Regions from separate parts of the Homo sapiens genome. Here all the other regions are linked to region 2. The links are contacts of gene promoters, found by promoter capture Hi-C in blood cells and fetal thymus (Javierre and others, 2016). All regions are on one chromosome and are shown on one strand. Each heading gives the region's core, a stretch centred on a gene start or on the middle of the fragment in contact. The rest is flanking DNA. Distances are from core to core; before and after follow the strand shown. Region 1 overlaps SAR1B (secretion associated Ras related GTPase 1B). Region 2 holds the start of CDKN2AIPNL (CDKN2A interacting protein N-terminal like). Region 3 has its middle 41 kb from the start of SAR1B.

Region 1 (3,055 bases), core at 42-2,541, 200 kb before region 2:
GGTTTCACTATGTTGGCCAGGTTGGTCTCCAACTCCTGACCTCAGGTGATCCACCTGCCTCAGCCTCCCAAAGTGCTGGGATTACAGGCATGAGCCACTGTGTCCGGCTTGGCTAATTTTTTGTGTTTTTTTGTAGAGATGAGGTTTCACTATGTTGTCCAGGCTGGTCTTGAACTCCTGAGCTCAAGCAATCCACCTGCCTTGGCCTTCCAAAGTGCTGGGATTACAAGTGTGAGCCACCACACCCGGCCTTATTATTTTAACAAGCTTGTACCTGATATTAATTTCCTTCTGTCACTCATTCCAAATTTATCACTGGCAAAAAAAATCTGATAACTAGAAATGTCAAAAAATGAACACTGCATATATATGTAATATAAATACACACATTTTATGTATATATAATCACATATATGTAGTTTTTTTACTGCTTATATTTTAGATCTAGTAGCAGTCCTCCAATGAACTTAACGTGTATTTTTTTTTATTTTTATTTTTATTTTAAATATTCTACTCCTTACATATGATAATTGGAAGAGACTAAAGTATTTGACTTGCCCACAGTCAAGGAAAGCCTGAAATTCCCTCTTAGTTATTCTCAGAAGAATTTGGCACCACTGGGTAAAAGATTAACTTGAATATATTGTGAAGTACCAGCAGCTAAGGGATTACCGCACTTGATATCTGGTTGGACTCTTTGCTTAAACCATCTGCTGGGTTTGACCAACAAGTAAACTCTAACCCCTGATTGTTTTTGTTAGCTCGAAGAGTGTGGAAAAACTACCTTCCTGCTATCAATGGCATTGTATTTCTGGTGGATTGTGCAGACCACGAAAGGCTGTTAGAGTCAAAAGAAGAACTTGATGTAAGTTAAATAACTGAAACTAAATATAGTCAAATCACTCTGGTAAGCCTGCAGAAGTAGGTCAGAGATACAGGTATCAGAGTGCAGCTTTTCTGCAGTCTCTGATGAAACTCTTGGCAATTTGTTGAGCTCAGTGATTGCTTTAAGTAGTGATTACTTAGAATGCAGAGGGAGTAACTGAGTAATTGTAGCTATTGAGGAAGTACTAACACAGACATCTTTTATGAAGACTTAAGAAGCTCACCCTGTACAGAATGTACCCTTTTAGTATATTTCATGTCTGTTATATTCCTGGAGTGGGTTGATCTTGAGTCCCTGGTCATGCTAAGATGCTATATCTTAAGCCACAGCCTGGAAATGATAGGACATGCCATCTTTGACACTACTCCCAGGAGTGAGCAGAGGCATATGTAGCTACCTCCCCTCCAGTATCCCAGGTCAGATATTTTGTAAAGGGGCCCAACAGCAGCAGGCAAGGTCAGCACCAGATCTGGGGCCACAGAGTAAGCAGGTCCATGATTTGATTGAAGGTTGATCATACCATGGCTCTGCCCAGAGCAGGCAAACAAATACTTGTACGTGTGGAAAAGTCCAGGTAGGTTCTATGGTTACAAAACAAGGACAGAGAATGCCTGAGTTCCTACTTTGTTCCAGAGACTGTGCGTATTACTTGATTTAATTCTCAATTTCATAGGGTGGATGCTACTGTTCCTAATTCTCTCTAGAGCTTCAGTCAGGCTAACTTGCCCAAAGTCACATCTCAAAAGCAGTAGAGCCAGAAGTGAAACCACATCTGTTCACTTCTAAGGTGCTGGCTCTATACGTTCTATGTCACTCCTTTAAAGGATGAGCAGAGTAAACATTTACAGGAAGAGCCTTAGGAAGACAGAAGAATTTAGCTTATGGTTTCATTGAGGTCACTTTAAAATGTGGGGAAAGTTTGACAAAGAACGTTGGTATGACATGATATGGTAGAAAATGAGTCCTTTATTGTTTTATCATATCAAAATAAGCTCTTTGGATGGTTTCATATCAACTCTTGTTTTGTATTGTTTTGTTTTTTTCAGTCACTAATGACAGATGAAACCATTGCTAATGTGCCTATACTGATTCTTGGGAATAAGATCGACAGACCTGAAGCCATCAGTGAAGAGAGGTTGCGAGAGATGTTTGGTTTATATGGTCAGACAACAGGAAAGGTAAAAAAAAAAAAAAAATTATGATGGGTGTGTTTAATTCTACAGTACAAATGTCTTCTTAAATTACTATTGTCCAACTATACAAGCCCATTATCATTTTCTTAAAGAAAACTGTCATTTATACCTGTGGGTCTTTTTAATGTCCTCATTTCTTTCTACCATGGAATGAAACATTTTCTTGGTGACAACAAAAATGTCAAGGATGAGTTATGCCTAAGGCTTGTGCTTATAGGAAACTAAATTAAAGCTTTCAAAGTTATTTATCATACATTTTCAGAATTAGCCACCAAACGATATATTTGAGTGTTTAAGTATACCAGTAGTGTGTTTAGGCCCTGAGTTTACCAGAGATAAATAAGACATAAACTTGGAATATTTTACGGTTTTCTGAACATATACTTTATAATAAGCTTTAAGACGGATTGTTTTGGTATTCACTTTTCCTAGGATTTATTTTGGGGGAAACATCAGCATTGAAAAAATCCAGATAAACAGTGGAAGAACCCCAGAGATTTACAAAATTTTTTTAGTTTACATATACTATTTCAGGGTGGAGAAATACTGCAGCATATAGCAGGAGGCTCTTTTTTTTTTTTTTTGAGATGGAGTTTTGCTCTTGTTGCCCAGGCTGGAGTACAATGGTGCAATCTCGGCTCATTGCAACCTCTGCCTCCCAGGTTCAAGCGATTCTCCTGCCTCAGCCTCCCTGGTAGCTGGGATTACAGGCGTGTGCCAGCACGCCCAGCTAATTTTGTATTTTTGGTAGAGACGGGGTTTCTCCATGTTGGTCAGTCTGGTCTCGAACTCCTGACCTCAGGTGATCCGCCCGCCTTGGCCTCCCAGAGTGCTGAGATTACAGGCATGAGCCACCACGCCCGGTCCGCAGGAGGCTCTTAAGTCAGACAAAGTAGACTTTGGTCTGTTTTCTGTCTTCTTTTTTATAAATTAGCTTGATATTAATTTTAGGAAATGCTTTGTTTGGTCATAAACC
Region 2 (2,964 bases), core at 277-2,776:
GTGTTGACCATACTTCAGTCTTTCCTCCTGCAAAACAAATTCACTTAATGAAAACTCAGGGAGGGAACCAGAGATAATTGTTTCCTTTGGCGTTCTGGACTAAATTTAGGCAGATAAGGGAACAACTTCATCTTGTGCTTTGGGAGGAACAAAGAATTGACAGACAGGAGTGTGTGTTGGTGGCGGAGGTCACAGAGACCTTGAGGCTTCTTCATCAGTTCAGCATGTCAAAATACATTTTGGGGTGTTGGTTTCTGAGCCCCAACACCCAGTTACTGTAGTTGAATGCTTCCAGGGATGGAAAATTCACCACTTAAAAGGAAGCTCTTTTTTCTCTCAGTGTGTCTGCTACCTGAGACTCGAACAGACAGCAGAGTCATGCCAGCTAAATAAAAACTTTCAGGTCCAGCCAGTTACGATGGCTCATACCTGTAATCCCAGCATTTTGGGAGGCTGAGGGAGACGGATCACTTGAGCTCAGGAGTTCGAGACCAGCCTGGGCAACATGGCGAAACCCTGTCTCTATTTAAAACCAAGTCCAAACTTGCTCATTTCCTCTGGACACATTGTTTCTGGCTCCTTCCAGCATCTTTTGTAAACACAGGTGTCACTGTTCTGGTTAAAATCCTTCAGCGGCTCCCCATTCTTGGGATCTAGCCAGGATCCCTGCCTGGCCTACTGGCCTTGCTGACCTCTGCAACTTCATCTTCTCCATTCTCTACCTGCCCTGCCCCGCCCCCCAACCCCTCCTACCCCCTATCTTGCAATTCTCTTACCAGGCCATGCTCTCTCTTGCTTTGACCGACTCCCCTTTACTCAGAAAACTGCTCATTCTTCACTTCTCCAGGATCACTTCCCTGACCCCAAGACTAGATTGGGTCCCTTGCTTATTCATGGTTGTAGCACGCTGAACTTCTCTTTACTAATACTTGTCAACGCTGAAATTCTCCATTTACTTGAGCAATTATGTCACTAATGTCCACTCCTCCACTCCATGGTAAAGTTCAGGCGAGCAGGGCTCCGAATGTGCTCTCATTGCCTCTCCAGCACCTAGCAATGTGCCTGGCAAGTATTCACGGGATGGATGGATTACTCGCTCCAGGAAGGCGGGCCCCAACCTTCGTGGCTGTGGAGACCCCTGGAAGTCGACCGTGACCCGGGCCCCCTGATGTCGCTCAGGATGAGGCGGTGCCCGGGAAACTCTCAGGGCAAGGGCACAGCATAGCTCTGGCTGGCATCCAGCTGCCAACTGGAAGAGGGCGCTCCGAATCTGTGTTTAGGGACCTCAGTTTTCCCACCGGTTCCCCGCAGGGTCGACCGCAAAAGACCCTTGTAGCCCTGGGTAGACCCAGGGCAGGAGCCACGGGCTGCGGCGGTCTGAGGAGCCAGGAGCCGCTCTGTGCCCCCGCAGGCCGCCGCTCCGGGCGAGGGCGCTCCAGGTTGGTCTTCTGGAGCAGTCGTGCGCTGATGGGGCCCCTCTGGCCGGCAGGCGGTGGCGCAGTGCGCGTCGGGAAGGCGGCGGGCTATCCGGTCCTCGGCTGCGGCGGGCACCATGGTCGGTGGCGAGGCGGCTGCCGCAGTGGAGGAGCTGGTTTCGGGGGTGCGGCAGGCGGCCGACTTCGCGGAGCAGTTCCGCTCCTACTCAGAGAGCGAGAAGCAATGGAAGGCCCGCATGGAATTCATCCTGCGCCACCTGCCCGACTACCGCGACCCGCCCGACGGCAGTGGCCGCCTGGACCAGCTGCTCTCCCTCTCCATGGTCTGGGCCAACCATCTCTTCCTAGGCTGCAGGTGCGGACCCCTGCCGGCCGGCTGATCCTGTCCCCTATCTTCCGACCCTCAAGGCCTCTCCCAGGGCTCACCCCTGACCCGAACCTCTGCCCCAGACTGAACCCGGGCCCAACCTCCATCCGCATTGGTCGGCCCGAAGACTGATTCCCACCCTGGAGGCCCCTTGGAAAGATCCTTATCTTTGAGCCTCAGTTTTCTCTTCTGGTAAAAGGGTGGTTATGATGGCTGTAATAATTAAAGGGTGAAGAGCTAAATACATGGCGGGTTCAAAGGTTGCTATTGTTATTTGTATTACTATTATTATTAGCTCAAACCATCACCTTTGCAGTATGCATTCGAAGTCCGTTAGCCCCTGTCACCTACATGGCAAACGTGCAGAGAGAGAAACGGAGATCCCCATTTTACAGATGAAAAAGCTTAGGGAGAGAAGTGATATACCTGGGGCCATGCAGCTTCTGGCAGGATTGATGGATTTTAATCACTAATGAGAGGATGTAATCTGTATCCTATGGCTTTTTCTCCTCACTCCACAGCCCACGGGGTCCTAAGTAGGAACCAGCTTCACCTCTCTGCTTTCCCTCTTATGAAAATGGCCGATGCCTTTTTGTGAAGGTCTCAAAGCCCACTTCATCCTGGCTGCAGCACCAAAAGGACAAAGGCCCGCTTTTGAAGTGCCTGATAAGGCATTCCTTTCACCCCTCCATGAGGAAGGTGGCAAATCTTGAGACTCCCTATTAGAGAGCTTCGATTTTCCTGAAATTGTGTTAGGAAAATAGGGTGACTTGGTTTGATCTTGGTTTCTATACCTATTATGGCTGCCTGACTCTGGTCATTTGGCCCCTGCAGGCCTAAGCCACTTGGTTTTGCTTCACATATTGGGGTTTATTAGAACAGTACGTAGGGAAGCAATGCCAGAGGCACCCGTCCCTTTTCCCTGCCTTCTAGGTGCTCCTGGGAAATCCTGGTTTTCCATGGTTAGGCAAATGTCAGAGAATTGGGGAAATAAATAATGTTTTTGTTAGACTAACATTCCATGTATTTAAAAAATAAAAATATTTTGGTCCTCATCCTGTATCTGAGAATATCTGTTGCTGGATGTACAGTGCCTCTGTTCTTCTAAATCTTGAAACATCTGCTGTACTGGTATTTCTGAAGTCCACTTCTGTATCTACA
Region 3 (3,192 bases), core at 554-3,053, 180 kb before region 2:
AAAAACATAAAGCAAAACAAAAAAACCTCTGACCTGGGACTGTCTTTGCCTGAACAGTGGAGCAGTATGGTGGTTTCATCCATTAAGCAGAAGTGTAATGGATGAAGAAGGGAGAATACCCTGTGTTTTAATCCCCTAGGAAAGTACTGAACTTGAAAAATCAAGTGGGCAGAGTAGCTTAACTGTCATGAAATAGTCCAAAGACTGCCCAGTGAAAGTGAATTGGACTTCATCTATGACTCCAGGACTCAAGAGGACCTGTGAATAGAAATGTCAGGTGTCAAAGAGACATTACAATTGAATTTAAGAGAGACCTTTTTAACACAGCTGTGGGTTGCCTTTCAAATGATGGGCTGTTGTTGGAATTCAAACAGTCTCTCCTAGAGAGGGGAACTCCATGGGATAGTGATTGGATGAAATGAGCTCTCACACTCTCCCCAAACTCAGAGGTCCTACAAACCACATGAGGCTTTTCAGATGAGGGCCATGAAGGAGTTAAAATTGACGGGGCAAGTTAGTGCCAATCCCATGCCCTTTCTTGACTGGATGGAAGTATTCCTGGAGGGGAGAGGAATCCCTAAGATTTACTCTCTTCTTGAGAGTCCCCTCTGATCCCCGATGCCTCTACGGGGGCATGTCTACTTCTCCTGTGACATTGGCTCACTTGAGACTCTTTTTTTTTGGGACAGGGTCTCACTCTGCCACCCAGGCTGGGGTACAGTGGTATGATCACAGCTCACTGCAGCCTCCTGGACTCAGACTATCCTCCCACCTCAGCTTCCTGAGTAGCTGGGACTACAGATGCCCACCACCACACCCAGCTAATTTTGTATCTTTTTGTGGAGATGGGGTTTTGCCAGGTTGCCCAGGCTTCACTTGTGACTCTTACCTGGATGTGGCAGAGATAAGGCCCATCCATCAGACCTCCCTCCCAAGCCTCCTAGGATGCTACTTCAGTAAGGAATGGGCATGAATATTCCAGCTGGCATTTAGGGAGCAATGCTTTGATACCAAGCAACAGGCACTAGAACCAGGCAGGCTCCCAGAGTCCCAAAATAGCAGTTCAGAGTACCCACAGGTGAAAGTTTATTTTGCTGAGTCACTTTTCCTCCTTGGCTTCTACAAACCCTTGGCTGTTCTTCTGAGTTTCATGTTAATCACAACATTCAATCCCTAGCAATGGAATGTTCCTTTTTTGCAAAAGGGGTGAGGTGAGGGCACAGGAGGGATGTCCTATTCAACTACCTCTAGCCTCTCGGGTTACAAGCTTTCAGGTGTGAAGGATGATCACAGAGCTGACAAGGGGCCTGAGTAACCCACAAGGCTGGGGAGCTGTGTGGTTTTTTGGCCCAGGCAGCTGACTGTCAGATATGTGACTGAAGCGGCTTCTCTGACCATCAGCTGTTTGCAACCAGCCCCCATCTAGGGGCTGCACCGGGCCAGTCCCTAGAGTGGAACTGACCCCAGACCACCGTTGGGCTTAGGGAGGCCCGTGAAAACTTGTAAACAAACAGGGTTTACCGGCTCAGAATCCGGGAAGTGAGAGTTGGTAAACAAATCCCTCTGGCCTCCTTGCCTCTGGTCAGTCAGCAAGTCTGTGAGTGCTCTCCTGTACCACTGTGTCCTGCCCTCCTCTAACACCTTTTGTGGCTCCTCATTTTGTCCACTTCATACCCATGTCCTCTTTGAGCCTCTCAGCCACCCTGCATGGTGGGCCCAGCAGGAGCTCTCATCCTTATTAACAAATGAGGAAACTAAGGGCCAGAATGCAGGTCAATAATTTTCCATTACCCCAAGGACAACAAAATTCCATTTCTAGCAGCTTCCTCTTTCGTGGTGGATTCATGGATAAATTCTCTAGACTTGAATGGCCACATGTTGCTTAATGTTCATTGAGAATGGAGGGAAGTGGCCGGGAGCAGTGGCTCATGCCTGTAATCCCAGCACTTTGGGAGGCTGAGGTGGGCGGATCACCTAAAGTCAGGAGTTTGAGAATGGAGGGAAGAATAAGGGGGACCACCCACTAAATACAAACCTCTAGACCCGAGGCAACCCACTTGAGCATTATCCCAAAGACAGAGGCCTCCATCCCTATCAGGGAGGCCTAGGCCCCCTTCCAAGCCTGAGGAGGGATGCCTCCTCTTCTCTTCCAGTGCCTCTAGGCCCTGCTCCATGCTTCACCGTGTCACTATCCCAGCCCGACCTGGCATCTCACCCCATGACCACGCCCATGACTAATCCTGTGCTCCTAATGGCACACTCACCTGGTGACAGATGAGTCAGCCGCCACAATGGTGTTCTGATGGTGCAAAGGTGACAAGCTGAGTGGATAAAGCTTCTTCCTTCTCTCCTCTGCCCAAGTTGTGTATGGAGGCTCACCCAGCCCCATCTGCCAGCTAGCCCCACCTCACCCAGCTGGCCTCAAGTTAAAGGGCCCTGGTGAGATAGGAGAATAGGGAATTAGGGTCACCAAGGATCAAGGCATAAGCAAAAGAACAGCAGGTGCAGCCACTTCTAGGCAAGATTAGGCAGCATACAGGCCACATCCTCACTCCTGTGATAACAAGACAGAAATTTCCACTTCAGCCTCTGATTGACCACGGGCCAAGTATCCACTTCAGCCTCTGATTAGTTGCTGGCCAATCTGTCATAGGGTATAACCAACTGGAGGCCTTTAAAGGGTACCTAGGAGTGTTACCAAATTCTTTTTTTGTTTTTGAGACAGAATCTTGTCCTATCACCCAGGCTGGATTGCAGTGGCTTGATCTCCACTCACTGCAAACTCTGCCTCCTGGGTTCAAGCAATCCTCCCATCTCAGCCTCCAGAGTAACTGGGACCACAGGCACACCACCATGCTCAACTAATTTTTTCTTTCTTTCTTTCTCTCTCTCTTTTTTTTTTTTTTAGTAGAGACTGGGTTTTACCATGTTGGCCAGGCTGGTCTCGAACTCCTGGCCTCAAGTGATCCACCCGCCTGGGTCTCCCAAAGTGCTGGGATTACAGGCGTGAGCTCTAATCCACCAGCCACCAAATTCTTTTAGTTTAATAAGAACCCTAAAGAACATTGCAATGGGGCTCTGGAGCTGCTTGCTCGAGCCTGCTCCCACTCTGTGGAGTGTACTTCCACTTCAGTAAATCACCTTCATTGCTTCTTTCGTTGCTTTGTTCTTTTGTTTCTTTGTGTGTTTTGT

The links. The method cuts DNA at HindIII sites, captures the fragments that hold promoters and counts their contacts. A CHiCAGO score of 5 or more calls a contact.
Region 1: a fragment that was not itself captured here is called in contact with the fragment with the promoter of CDKN2AIPNL in region 2 in 1 of 17 cell types (M1 macrophages); the score reaches 5.5 in M1 macrophages.
Region 3: a fragment that was not itself captured here is called in contact with the fragment with the promoter of CDKN2AIPNL in region 2 in 3 of 17 cell types (endothelial precursors, activated CD4 T cells and naive B cells); the score reaches 6.8 in endothelial precursors.

The regions. Positions count from the first base shown.
Region 1 is chr5:134,607,381-134,610,435 of GRCh38, reverse strand. SAR1B (secretion associated Ras related GTPase 1B) reads left to right here. Exons shown (of 7, transcript NM_016103.4): 5 at 762-865; 6 at 1,933-2,064. Among named protein-coding and RNA genes, the nearest start is that of SAR1B, 24 kb to the left of the region's middle. The HindIII fragment of the contact is 2,044 bases long and covers 270-2,313 here.
Region 2 is chr5:134,410,443-134,413,406 of GRCh38, reverse strand. CDKN2AIPNL (CDKN2A interacting protein N-terminal like) reads left to right here and starts at 1,526. Exons shown (of 3, transcript NM_080656.3): 1 at 1,526-1,791. The coding sequence starts at 1,553. RefSeq lists enhancers at 658-1,395, 1,383-1,872, 1,396-2,134. The HindIII fragment of the contact is 16,822 bases long and covers 1-2,209 here.
Region 3 is chr5:134,590,542-134,593,733 of GRCh38, reverse strand. No RefSeq gene overlaps it. Among named protein-coding and RNA genes, the nearest start is that of SAR1B, 41 kb to the left of the region's middle. RefSeq lists enhancers at 722-1,315, 2,136-2,195. The HindIII fragment of the contact is 1,068 bases long and covers 1,270-2,337 here.